Regions from separate parts of the Homo sapiens genome. Here region 1 is linked to region 2. The links are contacts of gene promoters, found by promoter capture Hi-C in blood cells and fetal thymus (Javierre and others, 2016). All regions are on one chromosome and are shown on one strand. The core of a region is centred on a gene start or on the middle of the fragment in contact, and the rest is flanking DNA. Distances in the headings are between cores, read along the strand shown. Region 1 holds the start of TRY-GTA1-1 (tRNA-Tyr (anticodon GTA) 1-1). Region 2 holds the start of H4C7 (H4 clustered histone 7).

The links. The method cuts DNA at HindIII sites, captures the fragments that hold promoters and counts their contacts. A CHiCAGO score of 5 or more calls a contact.
Region 1: a fragment that was not itself captured here is called in contact with the fragment with the promoter of H4C7 in region 2 in 11 of 17 cell types (total CD4 T cells, naive CD8 T cells, activated CD4 T cells and 8 more); the score reaches 8.7 in total CD4 T cells.

The regions. Positions count from the first base shown.
Region 1 is chr6:26,564,340-26,570,353 of GRCh38, reverse strand. It overlaps TRY-GTA1-1 (tRNA-Tyr (anticodon GTA) 1-1), which reads right to left and starts at 1,496; the gene lies at 1,406-1,496. It overlaps LOC105374988 (a long non-coding RNA gene), which reads right to left and starts at 1,030. Exons shown (of 2, transcript NR_134611.1): 1 at 818-1,030. RefSeq lists an enhancer at 825-954. The HindIII fragment of the contact is 6,863 bases long and covers 1-6,014 here.
Region 2 is chr6:26,245,162-26,251,378 of GRCh38, reverse strand. H4C7 (H4 clustered histone 7) reads left to right here and starts at 4,383. Exons shown (of 1, transcript NM_003547.3): 1 at 4,383-4,768. The coding sequence starts at 4,402. The coding sequence ends at 4,698. H3C7 (H3 clustered histone 7) reads left to right here and starts at 744. Exons shown (of 1, transcript NM_021018.3): 1 at 744-1,237. The coding sequence starts at 774. The coding sequence ends at 1,184. RefSeq lists enhancers at 1-15, 862-1,021, 1,322-1,691, 1,832-1,911. The HindIII fragment of the contact is 5,476 bases long and covers 1,765-6,217 here.

The sequences.
Region 1 (6,014 bases), core at 1,997-4,496, 320 kb before region 2:
CCAACATGGTGAAACCCCGTTTCTACCACAAACACAAAAATTAGCCCGGCGTGGTGGCGGACGCCTGTAATCCTAGCTACTCGGGAGACTGAGGCGGGAGAATCTCTCGAATCCGGAAGGTGGAGGTTGCAGTGAGCTGAGATGGAGCCACTGCACTCCAGGCTGGGCGACAGAGCGAGACTCCGTCTCAAAAAACCACAAACAAAAGGCCATTTTTCTTTTGCCCCCAACCAGCTTTCAAAAAGCAAGTTCATGGGGGAGCTATCAGTTTAGATCCATCTCCAGCCCTTAATAGGAGTGGCTTCCAATGCGTTTTGGGCAGGGCTCTCCAACCACCACCCTAATTCAATAAGCCTGGGCTTCTGTGTTTTTTGTTAGTTTTCCAGGTGGTTCTGATATCCAAGTTTGAGAATTATTTTCATAAAGAATAAAAGTTTGGAAACATGGGAAGGAACATACAAGAAATTACCAGGCACAAAATCCTCAGAAAACGCTTCCTTACTTTGATCTAGACAAAGATATTTGTCATTAAGAACTCTTCCATAGGTATCTGGGATCACATTTTTGAGACACAAAAGGGTACAATGGGATTAATATATTGTAATTAGATTGGCACAAAATTAGCAAATATGTACCACTGTTATGCCAGATCTCTACTTTGTGAGCTAATTCCCTATGTGGGTAGGAAATCCTGTCCATTTTTTCCCTTATGTACTATTTTCTCCTAAAATGATTCTCTTCTACCAGTGTTTTTCAAAACTTGCAGTACAGGAAAGTCAGCTGGTGAGCTTTTGAAACTACAATACCTGAATCTTACCTCCAAAGAAACCCAAGCATAGATGCTTTGTAAAATCTCCCCAGGTGATTCTAATATCGACCACATATTCTCTGCTAGGGTCGAAAGACACCACCATGACAATTAAAAGGAGAAGGGGGAATAGAACTCCTGAATTTCATCCCGGCTTCAGATGTATAGGGTTCAGACGCTAGTGGTTCAGCTTGTAACTGACTCGCAACGATTCAGAACTCTGAACACCAGGGCACGCGCGTGCCCCACCAATTACCAGTTGCTCCGAGTAATTCCCACCAGCCGCCCCTTTCCCCCGGCTGTGGATCCGGGGTTGAGGGGTGGAGACGCCTCTGTGGATCTCTAGCCCAGTGGACCAGTGTCTGATTCACTTCCTCAGTGCCCAGGGCTTCTAAGAGGGTTGGATTATACGAATTATAGGGATGAAGTCTTGATGGCGCGTGTTAAAAATTGTTACGGAGAATAATAAAAAATTAAAGAGATTCACTGCACATCCAGAATAGTTTTAAATAGATTCTTATCGAGGATATGTATAAGTGAAATACGCATTTCTGAGAATGAATTTTAAAACTTACGCAAAAAAAAAAAATTGTGAACTCCTTCGAGCCGGATTCGAACCAGCGACCTAAGGATGTCTAAGGACACAGCCAACTACAGTCCTCCGCTCTACCAACTGAGCTATCGAAGGATTCACACGACTTTCACTTCCCGCTGGGGATGCCATCTCTGCGGAAGGTTGGGCAATCGTGGATGCTTGTCGTCCTGTTTACCTGCGTCGTTGATGTTCTTTTGACATCCACTACCCCTTCGGAACTGACTGATATTCAGAGGCCCTTTTCTCTGAAACAGGGAGAAAACGGGAGCACCACCCTCACTAGTTTACAAAAAGAAACATAAAATGTTAAGGAGGCACAAGGAACTGATAAGAATTTAGCAATGACCATCTTTTGTTGTGATGAATGCATTATATAACCAATTTTAACCTCTACCTAAAAATAGAATTTGAAACACTTTAACAATGCAATTTTAATGGGATTTTATTGAGATAACTGACAGGAGGAAGAGAAGGAAGAGCAGGCTAAATAATGCAACTTCGAAAGCATAATAATTTTTTTTTTTTTTTTGAGACAGAGTCTCGCTCTGTCGCCTGGGCTGGAGTGCAGTGGCGCGATATCGGCTCACTGCAACCTCCGCTTCCCAGGTTCGAGCGATTCTCCCGTTCTCCCGCCTCAGCCTTCGAGCAGCTGGGATTACAAACGCAAGCCACCACGCCCGCCTAATTTTTATATTTTTAGTAGAGTTGTGATTTTTGCCATGTTGGCCAGGCTGGTCTCGAACTCTTGGCCTCAAGTGATCCGCCCGTTTTGGCCTTCTAAAGCCCTAGGATCATAGGCGTGAGCCCACAGCAGCTGGCCATCACATTAATTCTTAACTCAGCAAAAACCTATCCATGGGTGTGCTAAAATGATACATTTTTAAATGATTAACACAAGGTAATATCATTTCAAATATTAGTTTTGCAAAGTGTAAGATTCTTGTCTAGCTTTCTATGACTCTGAAGCTCAGAATAGCTATTATCCTCCCTTGTTAATGAAAAAATCCACTTGTGGTGGAATCTGGCATCCGAAATCTGTTTCATTATGGCCCGGCGCGGTGACTTACCTCTGTAATCCCAGGACTTCAGCAGGCCGAGACGGGGAGATCACCTGAGGTCAGGAGTTCGAGACCAACCTGGCCAAAATGGTGACACCCCTGTCTCTGTTAAAACTACAAGAATCAGCCGGGCGTGGTGGTGGTGGGCGCCTGTAATCCCAGCTACTCGGGAGGCCGAGGCAGGAGAATCACTGCAACCTAGGAGGCAGAGGTTGCAGTGAGCAGATATGTTGCCACCGCACTCCAGCCACTCCACAGAGCAAGACTCCGTCTCAAAAAAAAAAAAAAAAAAAAAAAAAAGAAAAGAGAAAAAAAAATCTGTTTCATTCTTTTTCATGTTCCATTAAAGATAATTACCTTGTCATATAATGAAACATGCACAGGGCAAATGATCCTTCTTGTGCAAGTAGGCCATTGAGCCCAATGTTCACTCCTTTATGGCACACAGATTTTTTTTTTCTTTTCTGAACAAAAATTGAAAGTACATTTAACTTGGCCATTAATCTCCTCAAGTCCATGAAACATTTATTTGAGTGGGGCGAGTCTCGATGAATTAAATGTAATGTTTTATCTCCTCTCCAACCTCAATTGCCTGAATAAGTTATCCTATTTCACAGATGTATTTACTTTTATACATTTGGTCAAAATACACTTTTCAAACGGTTAAATGCATGATTCATATACGAATATGAAATAAACACTTGTCAAAGGTTTAATTCACTAATGAGGGAATCATCAAGATGGTAAAACTGGTAAAACTGGATCGAAGAATTTATTGATAGTCACTGAAAGAAGCAATGCTGTAAATTAACATTGCTAAGTGAGGTAGAGAACTGGAAACTGCCTTACAGGACAATAAAACTGTACTGTTTCTACAGGACGGAAAATAACTAAATATCAGACGAAGTTCATTTGCATCACCACATCACGACGTTCCCTTACAAAGCTGAAAAACTACCCTAATCAATAAATAGTAAACTAGGCCGGGCTTGGTGGCTCAGGCCTGTAATCTCAGCAGTTTGGGAGCCTGAGGCAGCTAAGTCTCTTGAGACCAGGAGTTCGAGATCAGCCATGGCCAACATGGTGAAACCCTGTTTCTACAAAAAATACAAAAATTAGCGGGTCGTAGTGGTCGGGGGCCTGTAGTCCCAGCTACTGGGACTGGCTGAGGAGGGAGGATCCCATGAGCCAAAGAGTGTGAGGCCACAGTGAGCTATGATTGTGTCACGTCACTGCACTGCAGCCTGAGCGACAGAGCCAGACCCTGTCTCAAAAATAAATAGTAAGCCAAAACAATGGTACATACTCGTGGAGCAGTAATTTCTCTAATGGAGCAATTTTGCCTTCACAACGGTCATCTGACAATGTAAGAAGACATTTTTAATTGTTGTGACTGAGGAATATAGTAGGTAAATTGTTGTGACTGAGGAATGTAGTAGGTAAAGAACAGGAATGCTAGTAAACATCCTGTAATGCATAGAACAGCCCCCACAACAAAGAATTATAATATCTAGTCCAAAATGTCAATAGCGCTCTATTGAAACTCTGCTCTAGAGAATGAAAATAAGATAATCCTGGGCCTGCAGTTTTCTAATTGGCTCCCCTTGTCCAGATTGGTCCCCTCGGTTCTGTTCTCCACACAAAATGCCAGCAAGTTCTCACTGAGAGGTGTCTGAGGTCCATAAGATTGGCACCATTAAAAGAAGTTCCCCCCGGGCGCGGTGGCTCACGCCTGTAATCCCAGCACTTTGGGAGGCCGAGGCGGGCGGATCACGAGGTCAGGAGATCGAGACCATCCCGGCTAACATGGTGAAACCCCGTCTCTACTAAAAATACAGCCGGGCATGGTGGCGGGCGCCTGTAGTCCTAGCTACTCGGGAGGCTGAGACAGGAAAATGGCGCGAACCTGGGAGGCGGGGCTTGCAGTGAGCCGAGATCGCGCCGCTGCACTCCAGCCTGGGCGACGGAGCGAGACTCCGTCTCAAAAAAAATAAATAAAAATAAGTAAATAAATAAATAAAATTTTAAAATGCAGCCCATGTGGCAAACTAACATGCAGTTAATTCGCAGATTTGATTTCCATTCATTCATTCGGTAAAGGTTTACTGCGTACCTGCTGCGAGCTGATGGAAGAGGCCCTGGGTTCTTTGCGAGCGCGTGGTCCCTTGAGTCCCTTGAGGGTGAGGAAATCGCACCACCGACCTCCACGTGTAGGGGAGGACGTGGTGCAGCAGCGCCAGATAACGCCGGAAGAACCCCAAGTGGAGGCTGCTTGGGTCCCTCGGGAGTGAGTGAAGAACCAATTTCTGTGGCATGTGTTTCAACAGTAACTGTACTGTAATGCTTCCTAAAAAGTAAATATGTATTGAACTAATTGTATACATAGACCCTTTTGAACACAATTTAAAAGTAAATAATGAATTTTGGTAGTAGAAGTTACAGCAACATGGACAGGCTATTTACTCGTATGTATGATGTAATGGAAAGAACACAGAGAGGTATTGGAGCCACTTAGTCCACCTTTGAATCTATGTCTCACTAGTAGTATGACTTCCCTAACTTCCTCATGCCTTATACAAAATGGAGATGATGATAATGAAGGTAATACAGATCCTAAGGGGATAGTTGTGAATATCAAATTAAATAGAATTTGTAACGCACAGTTCTCAGAGTGTGCTGTCCACTGCCTTACTCCCACAGGCTCAAACAGGGGAACCCACAGAGAGTACTTTGAAAGCCTTTTCGCTGGGCCTTATCTTTAGTGAAATTAGAGTATAAAAAATTCAAGAATAACACCATAGGAAGCATACGAGTAATAATGTAATCATTAAAACAAGTCCCAAACAGTACCACAAAAAAAGCTAAGTACACAAGAATTTAGACTATGTAAGAGATCAGATTTGGTTGAGATTAATTAAGGAAAGCCTCCTAGATGGAGTTATAGTCCTTACAGAGGATTTTTTTTTTCGAGACAGGGTCACACTCTGTTGTTGATGCTGGGGTGCAGTGGTCCAGGCTGGGGTGCAGCGGTGGGATCAAAGCTCACTAAAGTCTTGAACTCCTAGGCTCAAGGGATCATCTCCCCTCAGCCACCTGAGCAGCTGGGATTAAGGCACATATCATCATGCCCAGCTAATGGGCTGGTTTATTTTGTTTTTGTATTTTTGTAGAGACTCAGTATGTTGAGTCATAGGTCTCACTATGTTGCCCATGCTTAGTTAGGAATTTTGAAGAAGCGATTGATCAGAATCACTTTTTTTTTTCCCCTGAGACGGAGTCTTGCTCAGTCACCCAGACTGGAGTGGTGCAGTGGCCCGATCTTGGCTCACTGCAACCTCCGCCTCCCAGGTTCAAGCAATTCTTCTGCCTCAGCCTCCCTAGTAGCTGGGATTACAAGCGCCCGCCACCGCGCCCAGCTAATTTTTGTATTTTTAGTAGAGACAGGGTTTCACCATGTTGGCCAGGCTGGTCTCAAACTCCTGACCTCGTGATCAACCCGCCTCAGCCTCCCAAAGTGCTGGGATTACAGGCGTGAGCCACCACTGGGGAATAT
Region 2 (6,217 bases), core at 3,134-5,633:
TACCTATAAGTTCTGTCTCCTTAGGTGAGAATTTAAACAGAAACAAAGACGGATATTATGTTTCTAGTTTCCTACCAAATTGCAGCTTCCGGATTTAAAATTATCTATGAATAACTAATTCTAAAATGGAAATTAGCTAAAGATTTACGTGTTTCCAGAATTATACCATTGGCTTTCTTTTATAATCTGATCAAGGTCATTAGCATTCTTACATAAAAATTTAAGCTTTTTCAGTAATCAAAGGATGAACACATCTCAAGAGCGATGGGATTTTAATATCCCCTAGGAACGGAGTGTCTGGAAGTGAAACCAGTGTTTGTTGAAAGGTTCAGAATATATGAAATAGGGTACTTATATTAAAAATAAAATATTTCTTCAAAGTAAGAGTTTTTTAAAAAATATAAAGGAGACATTGAGCTGGACCAATCACTCTCAAACGCGGTATTTTTGAATCGCTCCGGAACTGCAGAACGTTCATTTCCGTCTGTCAAACATAATCCCAAACAAACTGATTAAAATAAAATCAATGAAGGTACGTAATACAGGTAGGCACATAAAACATAATAAAATGTAAGGAACTAGGGGAAAAAAGCATTTAGATAGGTTAAGATTTTCTAAAATGAGACCTAGTAGCTGATCACAAGTCCTATCACACTACATAATTCAGGGCGCGAAACTGGAAGATTCGGACCAATCAGAAGGACTTTGCCTTTATAAATAGGAGTAAGAACAACTGTTTGTTCAGTTGTGACCATTGCTTGAAACCCATTCCTATGGCACGCACGAAGCAAACAGCTCGTAAGTCCACTGGCGGCAAAGCCCCGCGCAAGCAGCTGGCCACTAAGGCGGCTCGCAAAAGCGCGCCAGCCACCGGTGGCGTGAAGAAGCCCCACCGCTACAGGCCTGGTACTGTCGCCCTCCGTGAAATCCGCCGCTATCAGAAATCGACTGAGCTACTGATTCGCAAGCTACCATTCCAGCGTCTGGTACGTGAGATCGCGCAGGACTTCAAGACCGACCTGCGCTTCCAGAGCTCGGCTGTGATGGCGCTGCAGGAGGCCTGCGAGGCTTACCTGGTGGGGCTCTTTGAGGACACCAACCTGTGTGCTATCCACGCCAAGCGAGTGACTATCATGCCCAAGGACATCCAGCTCGCTCGCCGCATTCGCGGAGAGAGGGCATAAGTTGTACTGAGGGTGTGCGCCAACTTAAACCAAAGGCTCTTTTCAGAGCCACCAACAATTTCAGTTGAAAGCGCCGTAGCACTAGGGAGTAATGTCTCCTAAAACAAGGAGGGTGGAGGGTTAGGGGATGGGGGCAGGGCCGGTGGCTCTTCTAAACTAGGCTTTTGTGTCTTGGCCATTGTCTTCAAAATGGCCGATAGTGGCGGCTCACGCCTTGTAATCCCAGTACTGTGGGAGCCCGAGGAGGGCGGGTTACTTATACAAAGGTCAGGAATTCGAGACTAGTCTGCCTAACATAGTGAAAACCCGTCTTCACTAAAAGTACAAAACCAAAAAACAAAAATACGGGTGTGGTGGCGCCCTCCTGCAGTCCCAGCTATATCGGGGGCTGAGGAAGGAGAATCGCTTGGACCTGGGAGGCAGCCGTTGAAGTAAGCCGAGATCGCGCCACTCCACTCCTCCATGGGTGACAGCGAAACCCTGTCTCAAAACAACAAAACAGAAAATGGTTGTGTGCTGAGGCAAAACCAAAACTACAGGGACAAAGGAAACAACTTGTTGACAAAAGTGTACGAAAGCTTTATTTGTGACAGTATGGGGAGTTAAATCATTATTATTCTTTTTGGCTTGCCCTGAGAGTTCATTTGAGACATCAACAGGAGAAACGGATACAAGTTAATATAATACAAATTTTACTTGGCATGGGAGCCTTCCAATTAAAACCCCGAGGTGCAGGTGAAGCTGTACACTATGCTCAGGGAAAACGGGGTTCAAGGAAATATTATTGCAACTTTTTTTTTTTTTTAGGCGGAGTTTCGCTCTTGTCAGCCAGGATGGAGTGCAGTGGCGCAATGCGGGATCCCGGCTCACTGGGACCTCCGCCTCCCGGGTTCAAGCGATTCTCCTGCCTCAGCCTCCCGAGTAGCTGGGATCACAGGCGTGTGCCACCACGCCCGGCTAATTTTGTAGCTTTAGTAGAGACGGGGGTTTCACCATGTTGGCTATGATTGGTCTGGAACTCCTGACCTCAGGTGATGTGACTCCTTGGCCTCCCAAAGTGCTAGGATTACAGGCGTAATCCACCGTGCCCAGCGCAATTTCTTGTTATTCTAGTAATTTAATCAGCCTGGCCAACATGGAGAAACCCTGTCTACTATAAATACAAAAAATTAGCCGGACGTGGTAGCAGGCAACTGTAATCCCAGCGACTAGGGAGGCTGAGGCAGAAGAATCACTTGAACCTGGGAGGTGGAGGTTGCAGTGAGCCGGGATCGTGCCACTGCACTCCAGCCTGGGCTACAGAGTGAGACCCCGCCTCAAAAAAAAAAAAAAAAAAAAAAAAAAAAAATCTAATTATTTCAAAATAATGTAGAAATAGGCTGTGATGGGATTGCTGCTTTTATTGCTTGGAATTCCATGGTTTATCAAGTTTGTTTGTTTGTTTTCCCCACAAATAGTTGTTTGCACTCTTGGCTTTTTGTTGTGGTGACCTGCTCATTAGGCCATAATTCATTTATGCAGTTACATGATTTTTTAGATATTGCTGACCCTGCTTCAAAAACCCATGATCTTTAGGACTGTTTGTTTGGTGCATCGTAACTGCACAATAAAAAATCCATTGTTATTTTGAACATTCTATTTTAGAGACATCATTTATTTCCACTTAAATGCTCTCGTTTAACTAGCTCAGCAAGTATTTTGTAATGTAAAAATTTAGTGGTGCTTATGTCTTTATTTTGGCTTGTGAGCAAATTCCCCTTTTCTCCTATTAACATTTATGACAGCTTTCCCTGAGTTTCCTGTTGTATCAACCCCAGAAGACAGTCACCCCCTGTACCTTCTGTCCTCCACATGAGAACAGGGCATGGAGCCTCTGGCAATTTACATTATCTTTTTTCTGGGCAATTCTTCATTGCTTAATTGTATAGTGCTTAATATAAGTGAAAGCACACTGAATGTATTGGTGTTGCAAAGGCAATGTTTTAAAATCCTTCGGTGTGCTTTACCTCTGCATTATTATTTTGTCTGTAAAAAAAGGCTGTGGCAATAAGAATTCGTTTACCAACTGGCCGGTGAGGTGGCTCACGCCTGTAATCCCAGCACTTTGGGAGGCCAAGGCGGGCGGATCACCTGAGGGCAGGAGTTGGAGACCAGCCTGGCCAACGTGAAATCTGGTCTCTACTAAAATACAAAAATGAGCCGGGAGTGGTGGCACATACCTGTAATTCCAGCTACTTGGGAGGCCGAGGTAGGAGAATAGCTTGAACCCAGAAGGTGGAGGTTGCAGTGGGCAGAGATTGCGCCATTGCACTCCAGCCTGGGCAACAAGAGCGAAACTCCGTATTTTAAAAAAAAATCATTTACTAACTATATGCCAGTGTTTTGCTTAAAGTAACTCAATTATTAACAAGTATTTACCCTTTTTACAGATAGGGCCATTGAAACTCAGATTAACATGTCTAATATCGGTGAGAGAGCAGTCACTCACAGATTCGAAACCAAAAACCAGGCTACTTCTCTTTAGCTGGGCGGCTTGGCAATATGATTAGGAATTCTTTTATGTCTTGGAATTTGGGCTTGTTTCAACTTCAGCATGGTAAATGCTCTAATATACAGGGAAGGAGTAAATCTTTTTTTTTTCTTTTTTGAGACGGGCTTCGCCCTTGCCCAGGCTAGAGTGCAGTGACGTGATCTCGGCTCACTGCAGGCTCCACCCCACGGGGTTCATGCCATTCTTCTGCCTCAGCCTCCTGCATAGCTGGGACTACAGGCGCCCGCCACCTCGCCCTGCTAATTTTTTGTATTTTTATTAGAGACAGGGTTTCACCGTGTTAGCCAGGATGGTCTCGATCTCCTGAGCTCGTGATCCGCCCGCCTCGGCCTCCAAAAGTGCTGGGATTACAGGCGTGAGCCACCGCGCCCGGCCAGGAGTAAATCTTTAAACACATACAGACATCAAAAATCGAGATACTTTCCTCTAGGTACATGTTTGACACTTTCGTTTAGAGATCCTTATTCTCTAAATGCCAGCAAATCTCCCTACTACAAGAGAATTTCTTATGTCTTGTTATTACTAGAAGTAGATGAGCGGGGACTGAATACGTTTTCCCGCCTTTCCTGGTCTTTCAGTTTTCAAAAAGGTCTACTCTACCGTTATATAAAAGGCTGCGGAAAGCGAGTAATCGTTTTGTTTAGAGATAGTTCTGACTTGTTTATCATGTCTGTTCGGGGCAAGGCCGGAAAAGGCCTTGGGAAAGGCGGTGCCAAGTGCCATCGCAAGGTACTGAGCGATAATATTCAGGGCATTACCAAGTGCACTATCCGGCGCTTGGCCCGGCATGGCGGTGTCAAGCGCATCTTGGGCCTCATTTATGAGGAGACCCGCCGGGTGTTCAAGGTGTTCCTGGAAAATGTGATCTGGTACGCCGTGACCAACACGGAGCACGCCAAGCGCAAGACGGTCACCGCCATGGCCGTGGTCTACGTGCTCAAACGCCAGGGAAGAACCCTGTAAGGCTTTGGCGGTTAAGTGAGGCCAGGCCTTTCCTTGCAATATCGTTAATGGCCCTTTTCAGGGCCGCGTACGTTTTCTTCCGAAGGGCTCACGTTTGACATTGTGGAAACTTAACTAACGCACTCAGCAATATTGTGTGTTTTATTGCTGTAGGTGCCCAAAAGCTGTTAGGTGTATAATGCTGTAAAGTATAAATTTACGCCAAGGCTGACATACAACATGGAATACAGGTGGTAAGTTAATCGTGTGTTCAGAGATTAGAAATCTGGTGGGCTGGCTGAGGACATCAACGGCTACATTGTCACTTAAAAGCTCTCAAAATGTGGTTATGGTAGTGTGTTTTTCTCCTTACTGTTAGGATTACCCTCCGTAATTAAAATTGTAGTTTTAGTGCCAAGATAACCCGACTTTTATATTCTGCTTAATAAGCAATTTCAATAACCAGAGAATACACAATAATTAGCACAAACTTGCCAGGTGCCGTTCTGACAAATGTGTCTGCAGTGGAGGGACTGGCCCCCTTGCTAGTTCAATGATCTAATTTAGCAGCACTAAAAGAAGTTTACCTGTTTCGTGCCTTTGCTTGTGATCCATCGTAAATATAGAAACACCTTGATAAGGTGTAACTGCAATAATTCGTGTCTCAATTTACTGTTTATGAAAGTACAGGGGTCAAAGAGCCAATTAAACATCTCAAGAGGGGGAAAAAACCTTCCAGAATGTGGAACATTTGGGACAATTGCTTTGTTCAAAAAGCCACCGAGAAAAACTGGAGGACTTTAAGTTTGAAGGAGATTAAAGTAACATAGCAACTAAATGTATTAATTGCATTCTGTCTCTAAAGTTTTAAAGGGCATTTTGGAGATAATCAAGGAAACTTGAACGTGAACTGGATAACAGGTCATTTTAGTAAGTTTTTAAAGAAAGGTTTGATATATTGAGATTACATGGAATTTCCCTTATTGTTAGGGGTTAGATGCTGAAGTGTGTAGGTGTAAATTCTCATGAGTCTGTCATTTACTTTCGGATGGTGGTAAAATCCACTCTATTGAATGTAGGTAGTGGATGACTGATAAACCCATCTTTTGTTATGTTTTATTCTGAATATTTTTATAATAAAAATTTGGGAAAAATTAACATAATAAACTGTTACAAACTCTGGTGCCATCACGGGAGAGGTCTCTGAACAGGTAAGTGTAAAAGACCTGTCTGCAGAGAGAGGATGCAAGTAGCAGGACACTGAGCCGCATGACACTTGTCATATGCAGGCACATTTATTCCTCTTGCTCTCACTCATCATGATCAGCTGTTAGCCAGAGGGGAGGGACATGGGAACAGGGCAGTTCAGGTACTGTTGGGAGAGGGTAGGTCTCCACTAGTGTGAAGACACAAGGGGCAATAAGTAGTTTGATGCCATGGAGACTGGGAATACATATATGACCAAAGATGCATGCCTGGCAGTTGCCTGATTGAGGAGGGCCTCCTCTTGCAAATTGAGAAACTGAGAATTAACCTTATG